Regions from separate parts of the Homo sapiens genome. Here regions 2, 3, 4 and 5 are each linked to region 1. The links are contacts of gene promoters, found by promoter capture Hi-C in blood cells and fetal thymus (Javierre and others, 2016). All regions are on one chromosome and are shown on one strand. Each heading gives the region's core, a stretch centred on a gene start or on the middle of the fragment in contact. The rest is flanking DNA. Distances are from core to core; before and after follow the strand shown. Region 1 holds the start of MTDH (metadherin). Region 2 overlaps POLR2K (RNA polymerase II, I and III subunit K). Region 3 overlaps CFAP418 (cilia and flagella associated protein 418). Region 4 overlaps CFAP418-AS1 (CFAP418 antisense RNA 1). Region 5 has its middle 2.7 kb from the start of COX6C.

Region 1 (3,483 bases), core at 552-3,051:
TATACCTTGCACTGCCCTCCAAACACCAGAGTGCAAATTTCACATGGTAGGGCCTTCGTACTGGCTTACTGAATTGTACTGAAAAGGTGAAGATCTTAATTCGCTGGATATAAAAATAGGTTAGGTGCTGTTTCTAACTCTGCATACCCTCCATAGTCTCAATTTGCTCAAATGTAAAATATTTTTAAAAATACATAAAACTATGAAAGATATAATGGGAGAACCATGGGAATGGCAATAAAGAATGTAAACGTAAAACATGAAGGCCTAAGACAGACGTGATGCCCTCTGCAACTTCCACACGTGGCCCAGTAAATCGGTGCCTGAATTCCTCTCTCGGCTTTCACCATTCTGCCCTGTCATCTCCCTTTACTCTATTTCACAAATCTACCACGCCACAGAGTGTGCAACAGACTCGTTCGTTGAACTCGCCTTAGCTCTTTCTCACAGGACCATACACCTCAAAGCGTATTAGGTAACCGACCCCCTCTTGCCTTGCTCCCGTTCCGGCCTCTGTTGGCCACATTTGCCAGAACAAGAATGGGCAACCATTTCCCTTTAACAGTCCCAACTAAAATGGAAGCGCGTCTAGACCTGGACACCTTTAATCCTGTGTAAGCCCCAGAATTTCTAGGTCACCGCACTTCTTCCACTGCCTACTGTCTCAATGTGACTTGAGATAGACATCTGTCTTCCGAGCGCAGTCTTTATACAACTTCCTAACACCACCTTAAGGTCCCATTACGCTCCACATGCAGCCTACTCTGCAGGCCTCAAGGAAGGATGCTGTGCTTATTCTAGCGGTGACGGTTCCCAAAGATGGCTTGACCTCTGGGCGCCTATCTGAACGGACCCCCAGACCTCCTAACTTCCTTCCTCGAAACTGGGCTTCCCCACTCGTCCTATACTTCCTGAGTTCCCCCCATTCCCCAAATAACATGACCACCTATCACCTCCTCCTCCACTTGGGAGTGCTGCCTCTCGGCTTTCGACTAAGCACTCTTTTCCTTCCCGGCTGGGGCGCGGCCTCCCCCAAGCTCGAGGGTCTCCACGCCCGCCCTTCGCCCGTTCTCTACTGCCGCTCATCCCATACTCACTTTGGGCTTCTCGGACAGTTTCTTCCGGTTCTTCTTCTTCTGTTCCTCGCTCCGGAGATTCTTCAGCAAGGCCAGGTCGTCGGGGGCCGCGGCCGGCACGGCCGCCGCCTCCTCCCGCTTGCGGGGCGGGCTCCTCCGCTTTTTGCGGGCGCCGGCGCAAGCCGCGGCCCAGCCGTAGCCCAGCAGAAACAGCAGCAGCAGCCCGAGCGCGCCAGTGCCCACCAGGATCACCCAGCCGGGGTACCGTTTCGGCTCCAGCCCCAGGTCGAGGCCCAGCTCGGTGCGCAGAAAGCCTAGGCCGACCGAGAGCATTTCCCGCAGCCGGGCCGAGCCCTCCTCGGCCTGCTGGGCCAGCTCGTCCTGCCAGCTCCGTGCAGCCATCTTCCCTCCCGTCAGAGGGACTCGCAGGATGACGCCGGGGCGCGGAGACGCAGTGGAATAGTCGAGGGAAGCGAGGAAGGGCCGGGCCGGGTAACCTCAGGCCGAGCGCATCGCGGCCGTCCCTCGCGCCGGAGCCGGGGATCGGCCGCTGCCACCGCGGGGAGGGCGGAGGGGTCTCCCAGGTTCCCCGCTGTCAGCCTCACTCCGCCGCCGCCAGGAGACCCGGGAGGCGGGAGGGAGTGTCTCCAGTGGCGGCCGCTAAGCGGCGTCTCGGCGCCAGCGCCAGGCCCCGCTGTCCTCCCTCGGCGGAACAATGGCGGCTTGGGCCGCGATCCACGCCGCGCGCGGGGACGACCGTGGGTCACGTGGGCGCCAGTGGGCGGGGCGTGGGCGTCACGTGGGGGCGGGCGGGGTCGGGTGGGGCAAAGGCGTGTCAGGGAAGGTTGGCGGTGGTCGGTTCGGGCCTGGTTAAGACGCGGCGTTGGGGACCCGTTACTGTAGACCAGAAGCTGGGAGGGGTTAATTGGTGGACGCCTTCGCGGGGTGGCTGGTGGCGCAGAGTTAGGAGACGTGGCGCAACGAATGAGTACAGAGGAGGGGCTCCGTGCAAGGCGGGGGCGGGCGGGGGGCGGGTAGGGCTGCAGCGCTAGGAACCGGGTCACCGGGTCTAGGTCAAAGTCGCCCTGGCAGGTATAGGGCTCTTCATGCCTTTTTCTGGAGTGTTATTGAGGTGGAATCGCTTTTTCTCCCTGGTGGCGCCAGTTGGATCCTTCCAGAATGAGCTCAACGGAGTCTGACGCCGAACACTGTTCTTCCGGGACCTAGGTTTAGTTCACAAATTGGGTATTTCTCTCCAGGGTGTTTCTCTCCAGGGCAACTAATACACTGCGTGCCTACCAGTTGCCAGCCTGGCGAGGGCACGTTTGCGTCGTTTGGCTCATTCACTCTTGCTCTCTGTTGTTAGTCCCCAGAATTCAAAAGTTGGAAAGCCCGTGGGCGGCACTATTCTTTTCCTACTAATTTGTAGCTTTAATAACACATAAGGGGAAGCACATTAGATTGTATTTACTTATGGAGGGAGCTTTCTCGTTACGTTTTATTTTAAGCTTTTCTACAACACTGCAAAAGGGGTTTGCAAAAATTCCATTTTTATATGCTATGTTGACCATCTCTGGGATGCAGCTATAGAAGGAAACGAACTGCCTTTTCAAATTTTTTTTTTTTGAGACAAGAGTCTCGCTCTGTCGCCCGGGCTGGAGTGCAGTGGCACTATCTCCGCTCACTGCAAGGTCCGCCTCCTGGGTTCAAGCCATTCTCCTGCCTCAGCCTCCCGAGCAGCTGGGACTATAGGCACCCACCACCACGCCCGGCTAATTTTTTGTATTTTTAGTAGAGACGGGGTTTCACCGTGTTAGCCAGGATGGTCTTGATCTCCTGACCTCGTGATCCGCCCACCTCAGCCTCCCAAAGTGCTGGGATTACAGGCGTGAGCCACCACGCCAGGCCTTCAGGTTTTAATTATAAGGGAAATGCTTGAAGGCTGCCTTAGGGTTTTAAGATTATATTTTGCTATAAGGAAACTCTGTATTTTATCGGTAAATGATCATTAGCGTGTAAGCAACTGTCTTAAGTGAACTAAATACAGGCTTTCTCAAGGAATACAGCAGGGGTAATATTAATAACCACCAAATACCAAAAATGTATTTTGACCTATTTTGCAACAGTGTCGTAATGCATATTGTGATTCATGTGTGGAAGGGAGTTTTGTAAATAATAAATAATAAAAGCATACTACACTTGCCAAGACTTATGATTAAAGACTAAATTAAATTAGGAGGCCAAAAACTTAGCAAATGTTATTGGGATCTGCTTTAACTCAAAGTTTCCAAATTCCATTTATATTTGTGAAATAAGATTTCTGCACGTGTTTTGGTTCTAGAGATGTGAAGGGTCATGATTTTCCTAAGAAGTTCCACTGACTATTCTGACCATTCTAGATAAACAT
Region 2 (3,483 bases), core at 621-3,120, 2.5 Mb before region 1:
GCTATCTTAAAGCACTGTTATCTCTATAATCCCTGTGATTACTTATAATCATAATTCCTCCACTTTGATAAAGAAGCTGAAGTTAAAAGAAATAAAGTGAATTGGCCAGTCATTGAGGGGCAGGGCTGAATTTGAACAAATCTCCATTCAGTGCTTTTCCCATGGACAAGGATGTGCTTTTCAGTGTGTGCAGTCAGTAAGCAGTTTACAGGGTACCAAGTGATGTGCTAACATCAAGCTCAAGCTTACTAATTTTCATATTGACAGAGCACTAGTCAAAAGAATGTTTTAAAAGCAATTTTATATCAGTTTTTTCCTTGAAACTGTCTAGGTAGGTAAGAGGTAAAATTACATCTAGTTTATACATGAAGGGAGCACAAAAAGTGGCTGACTGAAAGCAGTCTGAGTTCCAGCTGTAATACATTTTGCATGAAGTTATTCTGCCCAGTTAACCAGATAACAATATTCAATTAAACTACTGATATGCAAAGGACTTAGTCTAAAATGAGAAGAGTTAAGAGAAGTATATTATCCCATAAGTTGGGGATTTATCTGTTTAGGGAACTGTCATAAAGAAATACCATGTATTGAGACTCCCATATCTAAAAAGTTCAAGAAGGAATATACTAAAATTATAAAATTATGAAAGCTCAATTTCATTGCCAGCCTGGGCAATGTAGTGAGACTTCATCTCTACTAAAAATCAAAATAATCAGCCAGCATGGTGGTGTGTGCTTGCAGTCCCAGCTATTCAGGAAGCTGAGGTGAGAAGATTGTGTAAGCCTGGGAGATGGAGGCTGTAGTGAGCTATGATCATGCCACTGCACTCCAGTCTGGACAACAGAGGGAGACCCGGTCTTAAAAAAACAAAACAAAACAAAAATCTGAGCATGGAAGTATTTCATATAGCATGTAATAAATTTATAGAATTTAATATATGAAGATGGTGGTAAAAATGCAGGGTTTTTTTTAACAAAGTATTATGGACAATATTTTGAATGTCAAAGACAGACATAACTATTAATAAAGTTGGAATACATCTAATCTTTAAAATGCACATCAGGCTGGCCAACATGACATTCCACAACCATGGAATCCTTGAACAGAATAGCGTATAAGTGTGACCATTAATTCTACATCCCAAAGATCAAGGCTGAAGACTTAAACATTTATCCAATAATTCAGTGTAAACCAACGCTCCCCTCCCCAGCCCTTGACTCAGGGTGTTGCACTGTCCATCAGGCTGGAGTGCAGCAGCATGATTATGGCTCACTGCAGCCTCAAACTCTTGGGTTCAAGTGATCCTCCCATCTCAGCCTCCCGAGTCACTGCCTGTTCTTTTTATATCCTAAAAGCAGAACTGTTGACCTTAATGAGTGATTACACCTTGGAAACTGCACTTGGCTTAACAGCCTGCTTCATTCACTTTGCTTGGGGTTGATTTTGCCTTACAGAAAACAATTAAAGTTTCCCTTCATTATTCTGAGATTTAAAAGAGAACCAAGCATTATATGAAAATACAGAAAGGCCTATACCTAGTAATAAATGAAAAACTGAACTCAAGATGACATATGCATACTGACACCAAGCACAATGGTATACTTCATATCAAATGACACAGTGACACAGGACAGTGGTTTGCAATAAATTTATTTAATCAGAACTTCAGAGGGTTCTAGAAACCTGCATTTTTAACAAGGACTGCAGATGATTCTAGGTTTTGATTAAAAGTGTGGTTTGGGGAAGCAACTTTACCCTTTATTGTGTGTTAAATTACATATACAATAAAACAAAAAGTCACGTAATGGAACAAAAAATTGCTTTATACAAAATATTAGTAGATACCCAAATATAATATGGTCTTAAAAATAAAATCATATGTATATAGTTGTATTCCTAAGTACAGTAGTGCCCCCCTCATCCAAAGTTTCCCTTTCTGTGGTTTTGGTTACCTGTAGTCAACCACATTCTAAAATAGGTGAGTACTGTACAAGAAGATATTTTGAAAGCAAGAGAGACCAACCACATTCACATAACTTTTATTATAGTATGTTATCATTGTTCTATTACATTATTATTAATCTCTTGCTATGCTTAATTTATACATTATACTTTATCATAGGTATATATATATGGAAAAAACAGTGTATAAAGGTTTGGTACTGTTTGAGGTTTCAGGAGTTCACTGGGGGCCTTGGAATGTATCTCCCGAAGATAAGGGGGAACTACTGTAAGCAAAATCGAAAGCTATACAACAATCAGAAATGGGAAGAGAGCAAATCCAAGTATAAGTGAAGACATTCCTCTGAATTCCCAGCATTCATCGAGCATCAAAAACGACCACTGTATTAATTTGAGTTAAGGACAAAAACGGTACTTAAACATTATTAAGACTGAAGGTTTCAAAGTCACTTTCTCTTTGCAATAAGCTGGTTTGTTATTTAACTTAAAATGCAAAAAAGAATGGAATTCACTATTTACTATGACAACTGGTTTTTAAATAAACTAAAAACACTTTCAATTTTTATTACCACCTTTTCCATAAAATGTATCAAAAAACACTAAAGCAGGCCAGGCGCAGTGGCTCACGCCTGTAATCCCAGTACTTTGGGAGGCTGAGGTGGGCGGATCACGAGGTCAGGAGATCGAGACCATCCTGGCTAACATGGTGAAACCCCATCTTTACTAAAAAATAAAAAAAATTAGCCGGGCATGGTGGCGGGTGCCTGTAGTCCCAGCTACTCAGGAGGCTGAGGCAGGAGAATGCCATGAACCCGGAAGGCAGAGCTTGCAATGTGAGCCGAGATTGCGTCACTGCACACCAGCCTGGGTGACAGAGCGAGACTCCGTCTCAAAAAAAAACAAAAAACAAACAAAAAAAAACACTAAAGTAATGTTAAAGCGGATAATCCGTCGATTTACAATGTGTGTTAGTTGTATCATAACAATTTACTCTGTATTTTATTTTTCCACATGGGGGTCACACTATGTTGCCCAGGCTGGTCTTGAACTCCTGCAGCCTCCCAAAGTGCTGGGATTATAGGTGTGAGCAACCATGCTGGGCCTACTCTCAGTATTTGAACAATTTGTATGCCCAACTTTTTCCATTAGGTAGTATACACAATATTTGTATTTCTCCTCGTGAACTTTAGCTTGTCCATAAACTGAAGCTCAAGAATGAATACTTATATAAATGTAGTCATGCACCCATAATGACGTTTTGGTCAAAGATGGAGCACATATAAACAGTGGTCGCATAAGATTATACTCTATTTTTGCTGTACCTTTTCTATGTTCAGATATACAAAAACATTGTGTTACAATTGTCTATTCAGTACAATAGCATGCTGTACAGGTGTGTAGCCTAGCAGCAATAAGCTATACCATATAGCCTAGATGTGTATGTATAGTAGGATATACGGTCTAGGTTTCTGTAGGAATGATGAAATTGCTTAAGGACACAATTCTCAGAATGTATCCCTA
Region 3 (3,483 bases), core at 677-3,176, 2.4 Mb after region 1:
AGTGACATCATAGCCTTTGTAATATTATACTGCAATGCATTGCACATGTTTGTGGTGATGCTGGTATAAACAGTAACATGCTGTAGAGGTTTGTAGCCTTGGAACAGTAGCCTATACCATATAGCCTAGGTGTGTGGTAGGCTATACCATCTAGGTTTGTATAAATTCACTCTTTGATATTCCCACAATGATGGAATTGCCTAACAAAGCATAAGCAATGCATGACTGTGTTTCTGTCATCCATCTCCTTCTCTCCATCTGCCTGCTGTCAGCCTAGATAAGGACATGTTACTTCTGGACAAGAATACAGAAGTAACCTCCTCACTGGTTTTTCTGGCTACAATCTCTTCTCTCAGACCATCCTTCCCTTGTTCAGAATTAAAGCATAGCTCAGAGTATACCGTCCTCCTGCTCAACACCCTTCCACTTACAGAATAATGTCCAAATTCCTTAGCATGGCATTCATGACCCTCCATAATCCAGCTCCCATCCATCCATCATCCAGCTTTGTCTTCCCACAATGTATATTTCACCTTTGCAAGATTTTAGCTACATCAGAGTACTCAAGGCTCCCATTCCCTCTGACTTTGTACAACCTCTTTACCTCTTGGGATGCCTTCCCACCATTTTATCTACCTAAACCCTACCTGTCCTTCAGAGTATAATTCATCACATGTCTTCCATGATTCTTTCACCACTCTCTCAACTGGAAGAAAACTCTTCCCTTCCTGTGTATTCACGGTGCTTTGGACCTATTATATACTGTAATATAAAACTGAAGCTCTTAGGTTGGTGTATGACTACCTCCCTCCTTGTGGCTGAGATAATGTCTTGCTCATATTTATATAATTTGTACATTCTTATACACTTACAGAATACCTACTATCTTTAAGGTGTTACAAGTTATAAAAATATATTTGAACTTTACATTGACATTTTCAAATAAAAATTTAAAGCTAAAAATTAATACAGTGTAATATTGCAGCACTTTTCAATAGCATAAAGAAAAGGGTAAGAGACTTTCCCCTACGCCTTTTTTGGCAGCCATTCTTGGGTAAATCTATGAGTATACCCTAATTTAATAGTTTTTAAACTTTTTCACATCAAGAACCACTTTGCAAATCTTATGAAAGCTTTGAATGCCCCTCATACACATACAATTCAAATATAAAAATACATGGAAAAATTATAACTTGAAAAATTTTACAGTTTCCAACCCAAATAAAGCCTAATGTACTCCCAAAATCTGAGGTTAGGAACCCATACTTTTAGGCTTAGCCCACTTTTTACCCCATAAGTGGAAAAGTTGGCTTTTAATTACAGGTTGACTTTCCCTTTTCTGACTTTTCTAAACCCTCTGCTATTTACTGTCTACTAGTTAATCTAATAAGTGGTTAATAATCCCCATATGTCACCAAGATGAAGCATGAATTTTTATAAAACTATCATAGGATAATAAAATGCATGTAACATCAAGGCAGTGGTGAACACAGGCATAAAGTAAACTATGGATAACCTAGTCGGTACTTGAGGAACTTGCAGCATCTCAGAGTTATCAAGAACACCAGTTGGTTTACCCTAGATCTGTGGCAGCCTGGTTTAAAAAATATATGTACTTTTAGATAAAACAGTGACAACTAGAGGATTTATTATACTATTAAAAATAAACAAGTAGTCATTATTTAAATCAGTAGAAAATACTGTCTCAGTTCTCAAGACACTTAGGAATATGTTTGGGAGATAAGAGAATGGAACAGCTAAAGAATAAGGCGGTCTCCACCATTAGGATATAAATCACTGATAGATTTATTTTGTACAATATATTGGTGTTTACCAGTAGACATTATTCAGCACCTAGTCTATGACACTCTTAGATACTGGGCTCATAAGATGAGAGGAACCCAGGGGAAGGGAGACATGGGTGGGGACAAGCATGTGAGCAGCAAGGTCATAGAGACAATAGGGTCAAGAGCACTGATGGGAGGTGAGCCTTGGATAGGAAAAGGAAGACCTCTGTGACTGAGAGGAAGCCAGCAAGGTACTGATGTGTTCAGGGTGAGCTTGCCAGGAAATTGAAGGCTTTCATACCTGGCGACCTGGTTTTGAGAATGAAGATGTGATCTGCTGAAAATAAGGGAGTGGAGGAGGATGTGGAATAATCACTGAGGAAACCAGAAGTGGACAGTGACCAAAGACAAGTTAAATGTTACACAGTGGAATGCTGTGCAGTTGTTTTATTGTCCTATTTTACAGATGAGAGAAATAAATGTATCCTATCTTTGAGAAGTTTTAGAACTTTTTTTTTTTTTCTGAGCCAATCTTGCAAACCCTGTTACCCAGGCTAGAGTGCAGGACTGCAGTTTCAGCTCACTGCAACCTCCACTTCCCAGATTGAAAGGATCCTTCGGCCTCAGCCTCTCGAGCAGCTAGGAATACAGGTGCGCACTACCACATCCAGCTAATTTTGTAGAGATGGGGTCTCACCATGTTGCCCATGCTGGTCTCGAACTCCTGAGCTCAAGTGGTCCACCCACCTTGGCTCCCCAAAGTGCAGGGATTACAGGCATGACCCACCACACCCAGACAAGTTTTAGAACATTGTAAAAGAAGTGTCAGCTATACTTACTGACCACCTTGCCACAACAGCTGAAGAAAATGCTTTTATTTTTCTATTAAATCGTGTTTTCTTTAAGAATGGAATGATTTTTCCCTAAGCTTTTAAGATACGTGCATTTTAAAAACCATTTCAAATGTCATAATTAGATCCCTGCCTATTCATGATTCCTAATCCTAAAATCGCTAAGGATTCAGTCAAGTATCAAATGTTAAGTTTTCAAAATATTTTGCAGATCAAATAAAGGACATTTTTCCTCAACAACTTAGTTTTGGCGGGGTTTTTTTCTTTCTGTTAAAATTTAGATTATTCATTTCTTCCCTTAGCTAAGTCGTTTAGCTAGTCAGTCTGTTTCCTGAAGTCAGACAGTTGGCTTGGAAAATCTGTCAGGTTTTGTGAGGTTCTAACCTTCTAAATTGTGCCTGAATTTCGTACAGTTTAATACTGAATATGGTGCCCATTGACCACCAGAGGGCACTTTGTAGCCTGCCTTCTGTTGCAGTGATATCCACAAGCAATGGTTAGGTACCGTATCTCTTTTTCTGGTATTCATACTGTATTTCGTCCTTTCACTTTGTATTTTTTCATCTTTTTTAAAAATTTTTTCTACTTTTCTTTGCCATGGAATGTTTATATGAACTCATTACATGGATTATCATGAAATCATAATTGATGTTTTTATTAATTAAACTTCTGTAGTCTTTTTTATAATAGTATGAAATCCAGTGTTTATCATTTTTACGATGGCCCTACTTGTTGATTTAATTATTTCAACATTATTAATATTTATTTCAGGATAGACATTTTTGTTGCTGATAGTATGAATAAACAGATCATTGAAGCTAATGAAAATTTTCTATAGTTAATTC
Region 4 (3,483 bases), core at 1-2,500, 2.4 Mb after region 1:
GAGAGTTGTGATTAGTCTAAACTCTCCACAGCTGTGAGAGATGAATGTACAAATTCCAATAAAGATTCTGCATGTTCTGGGCTGAATTTACCTACATGACATCGAGGCCTAATTCAGGGACCACTTAAAAGAACTGGAGCTGCTTCGGTGCTACTCCATTCTTCCATGGCATCAGCTGCTAGGAGGCTTGCAACTGATCCAGGAGGATGCCTCCCCTCATGCCAATGTCACCGCCCACCAGTGGGTATTTGTTTAAAAGGCCTGCAGTATGCAGGGGAAAGATGCAGGGAAGGGAAAATTAAACCTAAGTACATGGGAATTCAAAGAAGCCTTGCAATTCATTATGTGAGCAGCCAGGGAGATTACAGAACACCTTGTAACTGAAGCAGTTGGCCTGAGGCGGCGTGGGACAGCAGAACCAGCTGCCTCACCACCTCTAACTCATTTATAATGGTGCTAGCAAGAAACCAGGCTCAGAGAGTTCTTCAGATTCTTGGGAAAGCCAACAGTGCTTTGGTTTCCTAATTTGGACACCTTTTACCTAAAATACTTCCTTGAATACTAAGTGAATGTAATAATACATGACATGCCCCTTTACCATGTTTTTTGTTTTGTTTTTAAGACAGTCTCATTCTCTTACCCAGGCTAAAGTTCAGTGGCACTATCTCGGCTCACTGCGGCCTCCACCTCCTGAGCTCAAGCCATCCTCCCACCTCAGTCTACCACATACCTGGGACCACAGGTGCAGCGCTGCCATGCCTGGCTAATTTTTGTAATTTTTTTGTTAGAGACAGCGTTTTGCCATGTCACCTGGGCTGTCTCAAACTCCTGGGCTCAAGTGATCCGCTCGCCTTGGCCTCCCAAAGTACTGGGATTACAGGCATGAGCCACGGCACCCGGTCTCCTTTACCATGTTAATAATTGTATCACCTGGAGGCACTTGCCTATTCTTTACGAAATACCTGACACTCAGCATGCTTTCCATGACTGGGAAAGACAGGGGACAAGGATTCACGACATTGTCTACACACGTTAACAATTATGGAGAAAGAAATAAGATTGTTAGTTAAACAGAAAGTTATACCAAAGGAATTTATAGCCCGGTTTAAAAAAAAATGATCTAATAGGATTTGCCTGAATGTAGAATCTTCTAAAGCCACACTACCTTCATCTTATACATCCACATCCATTGTTTAGAGCCCACTGAATTTTTAACTGTATAACTTTCTTTCTGACATCTGGAGATTTTAATAGTGCACTGTAATTTTACAGTTTATCACACAGCCATACACATATGTTACTCTTATGTGACATATGGCATTTCTCCTTGTAGACTCTGAACTCAACCTTTCACTCTCGGTGGCAAACCAGAAAGAGAACATGACTCAAGTCAGGAGACCCACCGGAGAGTTGAATGAGCCATAAATGAAATTCTCAAAATACCAAACTCTGGATGATCCATACATCCATTTTATTAAAATGGGAGTGGGCAGGAATGGAAAACCAAGTATCATATGTTCTCACTCGTAAGTAGGAGTTAATTTATGGGTACACAAAGGCATACAGAGTGGCATAATGGACACTGGAGACTCAGAAGAGAGGAGGACGGGTGAGGGGTAAAGGATAGTAACACTATCTATTGGAGGCTGGGTGTGATGGCTCACGCCTGTAATCCCAGCACTTTGGGAGGCTGAGGCGGGCGGATCACCTGAGGTCAGGAGTTCGAGACCAGCCTGAACAGCATGGAGAAACCCTGTCTCTACTAAAAATACAAAATTAGCCCGGCATGGTGGCACATGCCTGTAATCCCAGCTACTTGGGAGGCTGAGGCAGGAGAATCACTTGAACCCAGGAAGCAGAGGTTGTGGTGAGCAGAGATCAAACCATTGCACACTCCAGCCTGGGCAGCAAGAGCAAAACTCCGTCTGGGAAAAAAAAAAAAAAAAAAAGAACACTACCTTTTGGGTATAATGTACACTACTCGGGTGACAGGTGCACTAAAATTTCAGACTTCACCACTATACAATTCATCCATGTAACCAAAAACCGCTTGTACCCCAAAAGCTACTGAAAGTAAATAAAATCAATAAAATGAAATTTTAAAATGTAAACGGAATAAATTATCCAATCAAAAGACCAGAAAAATGGGAGTAGAAGTGAGGGAGCGAGGGAACACACTAATTTTTTTCTAATATACACAAAAAACAAAACACAGAAAACCAGAAACATTTTCTCTTTTATTTTTTCACCATCTCTCATTGCAAATCTTCTACACGCTAATAGATTCTTTTTTTTTTTTTTTTTTTTTTTTGAGACGGAGTCTCGCTCTGTGGCCCAAGCTGGAGTGCTGTGGCGCGATCTTGGCTCACTGCAAGCTCCGCCTCCCGGGTTCACGCCATTCTCCTGCCTCAACCTCCCGAGTAGCTGCCAGTACAGGCGCCCGCCACCACGCTCAGCTAATTTTTTGTATTTTTAGTAAAGACGGGGTTTCACCGTGTTAGCCAGGATGGTCTCCATCTCCTGACCTCGTGATCCGCCCGCCTCGGCCTCCCAAAGTGCTGGGATTACAGGCGTGAGCCACCGCGCCCGGCCGCTAACAGATACTTTCAACATTGGTACAGATCCCCTCAGATTTCATCTTCTCAAGAGCAAAATCAAATCATTAATGTAAGCCTGTTAAACTGGATGGCCACTAACTATGACTTCCCCTGGAACCATGTTGCAAGGACCGCTTTTTCAAGCAGCTTTTCCTTGCCTTTCTGCTAGAGACCGGTTCTAGGTAAAATCGCCCAGCAAGGCAACTTGGAAAAAAACTTTAAAAAATTAATTAGTTGGAAATCATAGAATATGCCAGGATTCTAGACAAATAACTAGTGTCCGAGTCCCCTCCTTGCCCCAACATTGTCTCCCCACCCTCTAGAGTTCTCTACTCTGACTACAAGGGTAATACATGTCAGGGTGCCTCTAGGATACTACTTAAGCATCCTGACAGTGTCTGATCTGAGTGGTCAGTGCTCAATGTTAAGTATTTTGCATAAAAATGCTAGTTTCCCCTGTGTGTGTAAATATACATATATGTTTATATGCATATTTGTGTGTGTGTGTGTGTGTGTGTGTGTGTGTGTGTTTAGGCCAGGATTCTAATAGCTAAAACAAAGATTCAGAGACAATAAATAGAGCAGCCCTGCAGAAAAGGGGAGTGTTGCCTTGCTGAGAATATTCACAGTTGGTCTGATGGTAACATGGGGTGTTCTACTAAATGACAGTTTGATCTAGATGATTTGTTTGTTCAAAGTATCTTTCATCTCCTAGGGATAAAAAGCCCTGCTTTGTCACATTTGCAATTTCCCTCATGTAAATAACACCCACTATGGCTCATTTCAAGCTTCCCAAGTGACATCACTGAATGGAAAGTTAAAGAGAGAAAGTCTTTCAGATGTAAACAATCTCAATTATATTTATAAATAATAGTAAAAGGTAGTG
Region 5 (3,483 bases), core at 421-2,920, 2.3 Mb before region 1:
GCCTCCTTTTTTCCTGTCCACTTTCAGATAAGTTTCCCTGTTGAATCTGGCTGGTGATTTCTTATTTATTAATCAGTGGGAAGGCAGAATAGGAAGTCTAGTTACATTATTGGGCTGCATCTCTGAAATCCTAGATTTTCTTGGTAATAATGAATAGTAAAGAGAAAAATGCCTCTCTCTCTCTCTCTCTCTTTCTCTATCTCTCCATTAGAGACAGGGTCTTACTCTGTCACCCAGGCTAGAGTGCAGTGTAGCTCACTAACTGCAGTCTTGAACTCCTGGGATCAAGTGATCCTCCTGCCTCAGCCTCCTGAGTAGTTGAGACTACAGGCATGAGCCACCACACCAGGCTAATTAAAAAAAAAAAAAGTTTTGGTTTTTTTTTTATAGGGATGGGGGTCTCACTATATTGCCCAGGCTGGCCTTGAACTCCTGGCTTCAAGTTATCCTCCCACCTTGGCCTCCAAAGTGCTGGGATTACAGGTGTGAGCCACCATGCCCAGCCTGTTGTCTCTGAACTCTAGGATCTAACTCTGACTCAACACTCTCATTATTTGTTAAATTTGAAAGTGGAAATAAATTATATGTAAGAGTCAGTAGATCTACCTCTGAGGTTTGTCAAATATTGCAGCTGCTGCTATTTTACCTCAGATAGAGCTTGTTTCTGTTGTTGCTTTTTAACTTCTGAGCCCCTCACATTTTCTTAATCCATAAAATTATTTCTGGCCCTTCCCACTGATACTGTATTAGTGATATACCTTATGGTCAAAAGGATTGAAAGTTTTCCACTCTTCCGAGTGACTACTGCCTAATTTGTTTCAGGGTCCATTTCATTCCTTTTAGCTCTTGGCATTGTAATTTGCCTTTCTAGGTGTTGTATACACTTTCCACAATAGGAAAGGCTGCAGCACAGGTGAGAGGTCAGGTTTTCTCAAAAGCATGTTCAGAGCAGGATAGTGATGGAGGAGCCAGCATGTTCCTGGGTGTGCTGCGGTAGGCAGCCTAGGCAAACCTACCCCCAAAAGTCTGAGGAAGCTGAAAGGCTGAAAAAGAGGCTGATAAATCTGCCTAAGGGAAAGATTAATGGTCAAGGGTCTTTTGTCCTAAGGACAGGATTCACAGTTAACAAGGAACAGTGGTGAGCAGGTCTATGCAAACTTGCCCCCAAAGGCTGAAGAGAGAGACTGACAAATCCAGTTTCTCAGGAAGAAACATTTAAAAGGGACTTAGGAACAGAAACAATCTCTCTGTTGGCTGAGGGATGGTAGATCCCCGCATCTGTGCTCCAGAAAATATCCTCTATATAGCAAGCTTTTTTGGTAAAACATGCAGCTGGTCATGCCTCAGACTTTCTAGCAAAACTTGTGACCACTGGGGAGGTTAGATAAACATCTTTATGAGGGTTTATCCATGCCATGGAAACACCTTGGTATGCAGTAGTCAAACATCGGTCATCATGGCAGTTTTTCTTCAAGACGGCATCACTCTTGCCATGCAACCAGCTGTTTCCCTACCCTGGACCCCACTTCCCCCTAAGTTTGTATTTAAAAAGTGGCATCTTATCAACACATTTTAAGGTAACATGCTGACCTGGTGATTGTCAAGGCCAGAATGGAGAGATATAGTGGGAACAAGACTGTTGGTATGCCTCTTTACCAATTAAGGGATCCTTGTCTCCCCCAAGTGGATGTGTCTCTGGTTGAGGATGACCTTGAAAGGGACTGATTTCTAGCCATGGGGAATACTTAACTGACATCTAACTCCCAGTATCTTCCACCCATCCATCCTACTTTATTCCTTAGGGCTATGCAGAACAAGCCTAGTCTTTCCACTGAGGCATCTTTTAGTTTAGTGAAGACCATGGGCTTGTTTCATGGGTTGTTTCATCAACCTTTCAATATAAAAAGATACCTCTTCACACAGACTTTCTTTACCCCTACTCTGTTGTTTCCATTCCACTTACCTCCTTCAGATATATTTTTTATTTTTGTTGGTTTTTTCCTCGAAGCCCACTAGAATGAAAGCTTCATGAGGCTTTTCATGCCATTTTGTCATGTGCTGTGCTTGGCACATTATAGGCACACAGTACCCTCTGGCTTTATACTCTCACAGATCTGCAAGACCCCTACTGCAACCCAATGCAAACTCCTCTCTCTATAAAAAGATATCTTTTCCCCCAGTAGTTTCAACAGAAGTCATAGAATTGAGTTTCACTGGCCTGGCCAGAATCCTGTGCCCATCCTCAACAAATTACTGTGGCCAAGGGGATGGGCTACATTGCTTGGCTACTCTTGGGTCATCTGCTCAACTGGAATAATGTTTTTTCTTTTTCTTTTTAAAGACAGGGTCTCACTCTGTCTGGCTGGAGTACAGTGGTGCAGTCATAGCTCACTACAGCCTGCAACTCTTGGGCTCAAGTGATCCTCCAGCCTCAGCCTCCTGAGTAGCTGGGACTATAGGCATAAATCACACTATGCCCGGCTAAGTTTTAAAGTTTTTTATGGAGATGGTGGTCTATGTTGCTCAGGTTGGTCTCCAACACCTGGGCTCAAGTAATCTGCCTTCCTTGGCCTCCCAAAGTGCTGGGATTACAGGTGTGAGCCACCACACCCAGTCTGGAATAAGATTTGACTGTTGTAGAATCACATGGCTAGAAGTGATGAAGGATTGATTAAGCACTGCTACTAAAAGAAAGATTGAAGGAATGCAGGACAGGCAAAAGAACACAGGGAGGAATGCATATTCAGAATGTCTGTTTGTCAAGCACTGTATAGGTTGAACACCCTTAATCTGAAAATCCAAAATCCAAAACGCTCCAAAATCCAAAACTTTTTGAGCACTGATGTGATGCTCAAGGAAATGCTCAGTGGAGCATTTTGGATTTCAGATTTTCAGATTGGGATGCTCAACTGGCATGTATTCTGCAAATACTCAAAAATCTGAAAAAATCCAAAATCTGAAACACTTCTGGTCTCAAATATTTCAGATAAGGGATACTCAAGCTGCATATACATTATCCCATTTAATTTACATCACAACCCAACAAAATGGGTACTATTTTTAGAGGAGAAAGCAGACTTAGAAAGATGAAGAAATTTGCCGCTACAAGTTGATGAGCTGGGACTCAAATCCAGGTCTGTTCGGCTCTAGAACAGAACCTATATGTAACATGTCTCTCTTCATCTATCGCTCAGGTTTTATTCACGTGTCACCCTCAGTCATTCACTATGGTTCACTGGATAGCTAGGGAAGCACAGAACAAACACTCAGTATTTCACTCAGGTCAGGCTCTGTGCCCTGAGTGTGCCTGTCTTTGCCATGTTCTCCCAGCCAATGTTTTCTCTCCAATTTCTCCAGTTTTCCAGGCTTTCCATTAGACTGAAACTCAGCTCTGCTTCCATCTCTTCCACGTATTGTCTGAAGCTTTCCCTGATGGTTTCACATACACTAATCCCTGTGAACTCTTAAGTTCACCACTTCTTC

Evidence for each region. The method cuts DNA at HindIII sites, captures the fragments that hold promoters and counts their contacts. A CHiCAGO score of 5 or more calls a contact.
Region 2: a fragment that was not itself captured here is called in contact with the fragment with the promoter of MTDH in region 1 in 2 of 17 cell types (fetal thymus and non-activated CD4 T cells); the score reaches 11.3 in fetal thymus.
Region 3: a contact is called between a fragment that was not itself captured here and the fragment with the promoter of MTDH in region 1, in 1 of 17 cell types (naive CD8 T cells). The highest score is 8.6, in naive CD8 T cells.
Region 4: a contact is called between a fragment that was not itself captured here and the fragment with the promoter of MTDH in region 1, in 4 of 17 cell types (naive CD8 T cells, fetal thymus, total CD4 T cells and 1 more). The highest score is 11.6, in naive CD8 T cells.
Region 5: a contact is called between a fragment that was not itself captured here and the fragment with the promoter of MTDH in region 1, in 2 of 17 cell types (non-activated CD4 T cells and fetal thymus). The highest score is 7.7, in non-activated CD4 T cells.

What each region holds. Positions count from the first base shown.
Region 1 is chr8:97,642,502-97,645,984 of GRCh38, reverse strand. It overlaps MTDH (metadherin), which reads right to left and starts at 1,801. Exons shown (of 12, transcript NM_178812.4): 1 at 1,098-1,801. The coding sequence starts at 1,478. RefSeq lists silencers at 672-840, 1,124-1,193, 1,464-1,923, 2,104-2,213 and enhancers at 1-970, 971-1,951. The HindIII fragment of the contact is 3,502 bases long and covers 1-2,586 here.
Region 2 is chr8:100,152,154-100,155,636 of GRCh38, reverse strand. POLR2K (RNA polymerase II, I and III subunit K) reads right to left here. Exons shown (of 4, transcript NM_005034.4): 4 at 1,634-2,343. The coding sequence ends at 2,321. Among named protein-coding and RNA genes, the nearest start is that of POLR2K, 3.3 kb to the right of the region's middle. The HindIII fragment of the contact is 3,247 bases long and covers 247-3,483 here.
Region 3 is chr8:95,248,483-95,251,965 of GRCh38, reverse strand. All of the region lies in intron 5 of CFAP418 (cilia and flagella associated protein 418), which reads left to right. Among named protein-coding and RNA genes, the nearest start is that of CFAP418-AS1, 19 kb to the left of the region's middle. The HindIII fragment of the contact is 1,582 bases long and covers 1,136-2,717 here.
Region 4 is chr8:95,270,624-95,274,106 of GRCh38, reverse strand. The region is part of intron 1 of CFAP418-AS1 (CFAP418 antisense RNA 1); the gene reads right to left. Among named protein-coding and RNA genes, the nearest start is that of TRS-AGA2-5, 2.6 kb to the right of the region's middle. The HindIII fragment of the contact is 4,275 bases long and covers 1-3,387 here.
Region 5 is chr8:99,894,648-99,898,130 of GRCh38, reverse strand. No RefSeq gene overlaps it. Among named protein-coding and RNA genes, the nearest start is that of COX6C, 2.7 kb to the right of the region's middle. The HindIII fragment of the contact is 713 bases long and covers 1,314-2,026 here.